3 separate regions of the Homo sapiens genome follow, and regions 2 and 3 are each linked to region 1. Evidence: promoter capture Hi-C in 16 types of primary human blood cells and fetal thymus (Javierre and others, 2016). All regions are on one chromosome and are shown on one strand. Each heading gives the region's core, a stretch centred on a gene start or on the middle of the fragment in contact. The rest is flanking DNA. Distances are from core to core; before and after follow the strand shown. Region 1 holds the start of GRIN2A (glutamate ionotropic receptor NMDA type subunit 2A). Region 2 has its middle 180 kb from the start of LINC01195. Region 3 has its middle 200 kb from the start of LINC01195.

What was found. The method cuts DNA at HindIII sites, captures the fragments that hold promoters and counts their contacts. A CHiCAGO score of 5 or more calls a contact.
Region 2: a fragment that was not itself captured here is called in contact with the fragment with the promoter of GRIN2A in region 1 in 2 of 17 cell types (endothelial precursors and M1 macrophages); the score reaches 5.7 in endothelial precursors.
Region 3: a contact is called between a fragment that was not itself captured here and the fragment with the promoter of GRIN2A in region 1, in 1 of 17 cell types (endothelial precursors). The highest score is 5.2, in endothelial precursors.

The regions. Positions count from the first base shown.
Region 1 is chr16:10,181,082-10,183,709 of GRCh38, reverse strand. It overlaps GRIN2A (glutamate ionotropic receptor NMDA type subunit 2A), which reads left to right and starts at 1,282. Exons shown (of 13, transcript NM_001134407.3): 1 at 1,282-1,833. RefSeq lists silencers at 2,015-2,074, 2,085-2,194. The HindIII fragment of the contact is 14,826 bases long and covers 1-2,628 here.
Region 2 is chr16:9,636,904-9,639,531 of GRCh38, reverse strand. No RefSeq gene overlaps it. Among named protein-coding and RNA genes, the nearest start is that of LINC01195, 180 kb to the right of the region's middle. The HindIII fragment of the contact is 3,105 bases long and covers 1-2,628 here.
Region 3 is chr16:9,653,394-9,656,021 of GRCh38, reverse strand. No RefSeq gene overlaps it. Among named protein-coding and RNA genes, the nearest start is that of LINC01195, 200 kb to the right of the region's middle. The HindIII fragment of the contact is 315 bases long and covers 1,168-1,482 here.

The sequences.
Region 1 (2,628 bases), core at 33-2,532:
TGCAGATGTCTTTGCTTTTAGGATTCTGGCTCCCTGAGATCAGAGGAGTGGGTTCCCGTACGGGGGTGGCGAGGCACAGGGAGAAGCATTGGAGCAGACTCTGTGTGTGTGTGTGTGTGTGTGTGTGTGTGTGTGTGTGTGTCGGCGCGCCTGTGCGTGGAGGGGGATAACTGTACCCAGCGCGAGGCACTGGGGGAGGAGGAAGCGGTAGCAGAGATCTGAATAATTGATTCTTCAGCCGCACCAGACGCCCGGGAGCGGGCGGAGAGCGTGGTTCCAACACCACGGACAGCAGCGCGCGCCGCCGCAGGCGCCCCCGTCGCCAGCCAGCCACCTATCCTGGCCTTATTTGCCGCCGTGCGCTCTCGGAACGGGTGGCCGCGCTCCGCGTCGCCGCCGAGGGACTGCGGGGTCTGTCTCGACCCACCTAGGAGAGAGGCTGCGGGCAGGAGACGCTTTCGCCCGCCGGAGCTCGAAGCCTCTTGGGCTTGAGCGGGGGCTACTGCGTCTCGCCGGCTGAGAACAAGTCCCTAAGTTGGTGTGGAGGGCGCCGCTACCTTCCTTCTCCTCTTCCTCGGAGGCGACCGCAGCAGAAAGACGCCCCGGGAACCCGGCTTTGCCAGTGCTGTGAACCAGGGTGTCCAGGCGCTCACCGGACTCCCGCTGGGAAGTGGGGAGCCGAACGCCCGGCGCGGAGCTGGCCCAGCAGCGAAGGGCCCGGAGGGAGCTGCCTTTCCCCGCCCGCGCCTCTCTCGGCCGGGGACCGCGGGGATCCCCGGCCACACGCGAGCGCGCTCCCACACTCACACACACACTCGCCCTCAAACACACCAGCCCGGAGCTGGGTTGCGGAGAGGGTGCTCCGGCGCGCTCAGAGGACCGGGCAGTTGCCGTCCGGAGTGGGGCAGGAAGCGGAGCTAGGGATCTTGGAGGGGAGCTCCTAGGGCTTGGCCGGATCATGGGACCGGGTGAGCGCTGAGAATCGCGGCCGCAGCCATCAGCCCTGGAGATGACCAGGAGCGGCCACTGCTGAGAACTATGTGGAGAGAGGCTGCGGTGAGTGCTAGCGCGGGACGCCGGGCCTGGGAGGCCCCCTTGGGAAGGGGGGAGGTGGGAGGCCTGAAGAGGGAGGAAGCGGCAGGATCACAAGAGGGTCGCTGCGTGGGAAAGATCCACCTCCCTCGGGGAACCGGGACCGCGGGAGCCCGCGTCCTTCCCTCCCCCTCTCCTACTGCTGGCTCGTCACAAACTCAGCCAGCGCCCCCCCACCCTCGTTACCTCCTCTTTCTCTCCCTACCTCCCTCGCTCAGCAGCTCCCGGTCGCACAACTCCCAGCAGCCGGCGCTGGGGAGGTGGTAGGGGGTGCGGGTGGAGGTGCCCAGTTAGCTTCTCGTGGGTGGCCAACCTGGGGCTCCCATTCTCCTGTGCACCCTGGAGTGGAGCTCCCGCTATCAGCCACAGGGGCTGAGGATCCGCACTGGGGGCGTCGTGGGCATCGGGCTTCAGCTTCCCCCCTCTTGTCTAGCCCCCCTGGGCGCATAGGGGGGCTTGTGAGCACTGCAGACTGCAGCCTTCCCCTCAACCCTCCCTCCCCTCGTTGGTGGGCTGACCCTGCCTCTCCTTCTCTCCTCCGCCCCGTTAGAGCCCTGCTGCAGAGCCTCCGGCTGGGATAGCCGCCCCCCGTGGGGGCGATGCGGACAGCGCGGGACAGCCAGGGGAGCGCGCTGGGGCCGCAGCATGCGGGAACCCGCTAAACCCGGTGGCTGCTGAGGCGGCCGAGATGCTCGTGCGCGCAGCGCGCCCCACTGCATCCTCGACCTTCTCGGGCTACAGGTACGTCCCAGAGGGAGATCAGGGCTCCTTGGGCCGGGGAGGAGGGAGACTCGACCGGAGGGAGAGCGGGAGAGGGATCAGGCTAGAGAGGGAGAGGGAAAGCGGGAGGGAGCCCAGCGGCGAAGTGCAGGAGGGGCACCAGGGGGCGCTGCGGCTCCGCGCTCCGCGGCGCTTACCCAGGAACGTCGAGGCCTCTTGGAGTTCGCCTCAACTTCCCCCGGCTCCAGCAGCGTCCGTCCCGAGAGGCGCGCGTCAGGGCACGCGTGCACGACCGTGCTGGTATTTGCAGGTACGCAGGGCTGTGCACCTGCCGCAGTTCATGCGTGTGCACCACCTGAGGACATGTGAGGACTCCGGCTGGCCGTGGGCACCGCTACAGCAGTCTGAGGAAGTGCGCAGAAAAGCGCGCGTGCCTATGAGCGTGTGCGGCCCACTGCCCACGTGCACCTAGGACTTGGCAACAGCGCCCGCAGTAGAAAGGCTAGGGAGGGGCTGTACAGTCCACGTCCGTCTGGGAGCTTCTTGGGAGCCTACCTTTCCCCCTACGCACGTTCTTTGCCAGCTCCTACGCGCTGGCCCGCGGGGGGACGCGCCTACTCTCCAGAATTCAGCATTGCACACGGCGCGCGTGAGAGAGGGTGTGTGTGTGTGAACATGTGTGTGTGCGTGTGTGTGTGCACGTGTGTGTGCACGCGCGCGTGTAGGGGTGAAGGACTCTCCACGGCCCCTTGGCTCGAGGTGGGGCGAGCCCCAAGTTCCCCAGGCACAGCGGAGCCTGGGCCCACCAGGCAGCGT
Region 2 (2,628 bases), core at 44-2,543, 540 kb after region 1:
CCCTCTCTCAACAATTGACAGAGTAAGTAGAAAGAAGCTGTGCAAAGATATAGAGGAACACAACAACACCCTCAACCCATCAGATCTAATCACCATTAATAGAAAGTTCCACCACCAACAACAGAATACACATTTTTTCCAGTGCTATGGAACATATTCTAAGAAGACCATGTCTTGGGTTCTAAAACAACCCCTCAAGTAACTGAACAAGAATTAATTCTTACAGTTGTGTTTTTCAATCACAATGAAATCAAACTAGAAATCAATAACAGGAAAATCTCCAAACAATTGAAAAGTAAGCAACCCATTTCTAAGTAATTCAAAGTTCAAATAGAAAGTGTCAAGGAACATTTTAAAACATTACACTGAATAAAATGAAAATACATCATATCAAAATTTGTGATATATGAGGCCGAGTGCAGTGGCTCACACCTGTAATCCCAGCACTTTGAAAGGCTGAGGCAGACAGATCATTTGAGGCCAAGAGTTCAAGACCAGCCTGGCCAACATGGTGAAACGCCATCTCTACTAAACATACAAAAATTAGCTGGGCATGGTGGCATGTGCCTGTAATCCCTGCTGCTCAGGAGGCTGGTGCAGGAGAATTGCTTGAACCCGGGAGATGGAGGTTGCAGTGAGCTGAGATCACACCACTGCACTCCAGCCTGGGTGACAGAGCAAGATTCCATCTCGGAAAAAAAAAAAAAAAAAAGAAAGTTGTGATATATAACTAGTCGATGGTGGTTATTGGAGCATCATTCTCTGATACCAGCATCTCCCAAGAACCAGATGCAAACCATATGACTGCTTCTTCTGGGTCAGCAGGGCTATTTCTGTGCCTAAAAAGGTGGACAGAATGAAACACTGTTACACAGATCCCAGGCACAGGCCTGGCTGACATTCTGTGACGGATATTTAACAGTGAATGTGTTATAAATTACCAGAAATGAGGCATTGCAAAAGACATGGGGATGGGACTCCCAGGTGTCTGAGCAATAGACCGAAGAGCCTAGAAAATTGTTCAGCCATTCATCCAGACTGATAAGAATCCCATGGACAGGAACACGAAATGGTGTTACTGTCTCCTAAAGGGCTCCATCAGCGGCTGCTGTCACTGAGGCTAGGTCGGGATTGCAGACCACAGTCTGGGAAGCAGAAGGTAGCAGGCTGAGATACTAATGGACTTTGTGGTATTAACTGTGTTTGAGAACGCTGAGCAGCCCTGGTGAATAGTGGGATGGAAGCCACGGTGTAAAATGATGCAGACTCTTTTTACAGGGGCTAGAAGTTCTCCTTCTTCCAAATGCATGAACACAGCTGAAAGCCTTTGACCCAGAGCGGGATGTTCTTGGTTTGTTTGGATGGAGTGGCCTCAGATTTTAGGGTGCTGAGGCTAAAGCCAGTAACAAAGAGGTGAGCTCCAAGAGCCGATAAAGTGAGTTGCTCTTATGTGCAGAACTTTTCAGGGGGGTGCTAAAGCACAGAATTAATTGAGCATCTCTCCTGGTAGGCCTAAGAGACATTTGACATTCTGGACCATGATTTTCCACCCACACTGTCTGCCTGATTCTTGTTAATGACCCATCACAATGGTTTTGCTTCTCTGCTGCATAGAGTCAGAGCTGGACCTGATGACCTTCTTAAGAGCAGTCAGGGAAGCCTGAACTGCATGAAGATCAGGTAGATGACCTTCAGTGTTCTCCTGACTGACAGGTTACAAACTACAGAGGTTAAATGTCAAGACTAAAACTTGTCTTTCTAAGAAAATGTTTCCCCCTCTTGTCTACTGGTGAAAATGACATTAGGAAGGATTATATAGACTTGAGAAGCATGGCAAAAGGGTCAGGGCAGATTATTTAGTTCCAGAGATACTGTCTGCGCTGGGGAGGCAGGTGGCAGAAGGGGACAATTGAGTCACTCCATATTTATACTGGTACATCTCAATTTTATATTTATTTTTATTTATTTATTTTTTGAGACAGCGTCTTGCTCTGTCACCCAGGCTGGAGTGCAGTGGCGTGACCTCGGCTCACTGCAACCTCTGCCTCCCGGATTCAAGCGATTCTCCTGCCTCAGCCTCCCAAGTAGCTGGGATTACAGGCATGCGCCACCATACCTGGCTAATTTTAGTATTTTTAGTAGAGATGGGGTTTCACCATATTGGCCAGGCTTGTCTCGAACTCCTGACCTCGTGATCCACCCACCTCGGCTTCCCAAAGTGTTGGGATTACGGGCGTGAGCCACCGCGCCTGGCCTGCTTCTCAATTTTAACCTGTGTGTGAATCACCTAAGGACCTGAGCTTCTGACTCAGTATAGATCTGGCGTGGGGTCCGAGATTCTGCATTTCCAAAAAGCTCACAAATGATGCTGGTGGGATGGGGACAATGCTTTGAAGAGAGAGATTCCAGACCAGACCAGTGGCTGAGGGAGTCATCTCTCCTCCCCTCATCCGCCTCCAGAACAGAAACTGGATTAATGGCAGGTCATTGAGCTGGTACCAGAAAGAATATTTTTATTAATCAAACCCCTACTCTGTCCTAAGGGCTTCCCCTGCACCGAGGTAGGTGTCATCGTCTCTATTTGAGAGATGAGGACTAATATGGTTTGAATCTGTGTCCCCACCAAAT
Region 3 (2,628 bases), core at 76-2,575, 530 kb after region 1:
TAGTTATGACTGCAACATCATACTTAAGATGCTCCAGAGACCCACAAACCTACCCCCATAAGGTTACCACCCAGGAATAACCCATTTGGAAGGCAATTATGCGATATGAATCATGAAAGGTGCAATTAATCAAAGCAAAAGGCAGAGAAAGAAGCCATGGCATGTGGCGGCTGCTCCAAACAGGGAAACCTTCCTGAGGAAAGAGCAGGGAAGCACACATGAGCATCCCCTCAGCCACACCTTGTGCCCTTCCCTGGCCCCAGGACCTCAAAGCTGTGTTTCATGCTATTGCTGTATGGCCTTCCTCTGTGTCTCTGGAGCTTGCCTCATAGGACCCTTTATGGATATTAAATCATTTAGTTCCAGCATAGGTCCATGCATATTATGTGCCAGGAATACTGCTAGACACTGTGAAGAAAAATCCATTATCATCATCATCCCCAGAATCACCATCATCATCATCATCACCACAATCACCACTGATCATGAGAATTGGGTTTAAGGCCGACTCTGCATCTCACTTAGGTCTGGCACAAGCCCTTTGTGGCTCTGGATCTCAGTTCTGGATCATCTGGAAAATAAAAATTCAGAAAAAAAATGTGATCATCAAATGAAATGATACATGTGAAAAATCTCCCCTGCAAGCTGAGAAGTACTGCTCTGAAGGTCACTGTTTTAATCGAACTTCAAGGTTAGCCCTATGGCACCAGTGAGCTTCAGATGGCTGGCTCAGGGAAGAAGAGACTTGTTCAAGTCCTCATTTTACATATGCGCATAAGTGAATACGGGCTAAAATGGCTTTTGTGAATGGACACAGACAGCCAGAGAAACAGAGGGGGACTGAAATTTCCCAATTATACATCTCTCTTCTTTCCATTCTGATTATCTTTCCATCGTTGGCCAAGCTGTGAATTCCTCTCGGCTTTCAGGACCCACAGGCTTTAAGTGGGCTTTTATTATCTGAGGTAAGTAAAAAAGGCCCTGGAGATCATTCATTGAACACTTAGTATGGGCCAGATGATTGACATCCATGCTGGTGTTTAATCCCTATAGGCAGACTATAGAAGGGGAAACAACATCAGAGAAGTTCAGCTTACTGCCCAAAGACACACCACTGGCAATTGACAGAGGAGGTGACCAAGCCCACATTTTTCTGACTTTGAAGCTTTCCACAGCTCACTGTCTCCTGGGGCAGGAGCAATTTGTAGTTGCCAGGGGGTAGAAAGAGGGTTGGGGGGAAGGATGCTTCAGCTATCAGTACCAGGGCAGGGAAATATTGGAGCTGCTTTCCCATGTGCTGATTAAAATGTCCAACAGGACTGACCACCCTCGGAGGTGATGTTTTGCTAAAGCCCCTTTGTCCCTCCACCTGGCTAAGAGAGGACAATTATTGTTACGGCAGAGCTTCCTGGAGGGAGGAGGTACAGGTGATCACTGGGGAGTCTTCCAAGAAAATTGAGAAGCCCCCTCCAGGCCCAAGCTTTGGATTTCCTCTTCCCTGTTGGAATCTGCATGCTTTTCTTTTTACTTATACTTAACCAAACTTTTAGGTGAAGACAGTTCTGGAGGAATTTCCTGATTAAATGAAGATGAAATATTCTCAAATTATTTTAGGCAAACTCTACTTCTATTTCCTGCTTAGAGTAGAAATTAAAATCCAACGTTAACCTTTTAGAAAGATCAAAGTAAGTTCTGTTCCTGTATATTTATTCCAACTGCCTCCTTCTCCTCTGCCTCCTCTTCTCCTTCCTTCCTCTCCTTCTCCTTCTCCTTGAAAATTTACGTCTTGGGTTAGGATGAAGGTAGTAAACTTAACAGGGCATTAAAGGGTAGTATTTACAAAAGTTATTGTTAAAGCCCTTGACTTCAGCATGTGTTCTCTTTGCTTATTGATCAGCACACCTATGCTAGCATTGACTGGCATGCCCATATTAGCATTGTTTAGCATGCTCATACTAGCGTTCATCAGCAGGTTTATACTAGCATTGATCAGCACACCCATACTAGTATTGGTAAGCACGTCCGTACTAGCATTGATCGGCAGGCTTATACTAGCATTGATAAGAACCCCCATACTAGCATTGATCAGCATGCCCATGCTAGCATTGATCAGCATACTTATATTAGCTTTGATCAGCATGCCCATACTGTCATTGATCAGCATGCCCATACCAACATTGACCAGCATACCCATACTAGCATTGATCAGCATGTCCTTTCTAGCATTAATCAGCATGCTTAGTTCTGTGATAGCTTTGCTCTTCCAGAGATTACTCATTACTTTGCATTACAGCATTAGTCCAGCTTGCAATGCCATTTCTGTGTGTGCAGCTGCGTCCCCAGACTCCACAGCCCTGATGCCTAATAGATGTCCAACAATTATTAATTAATTTTGCTTTGTATATCCTTCAAACATTTTACACTACCTGACCTTATTTCATTTTCTCTGTCACTAGAATGTAAGCTGCAAGAGGACAGAGACTTTCTTTAGTTCACTACTAGGTCCCCTGCACTAGGAGGAGGCACTAAATCAATATTCATTGGATAAACAAAGCACGGAAGAGCCACAGTTAGCCCTGCAGAAGGAGCTGACCATCTCGAATTCTAAATTGAGGGTGAGAAAATAAA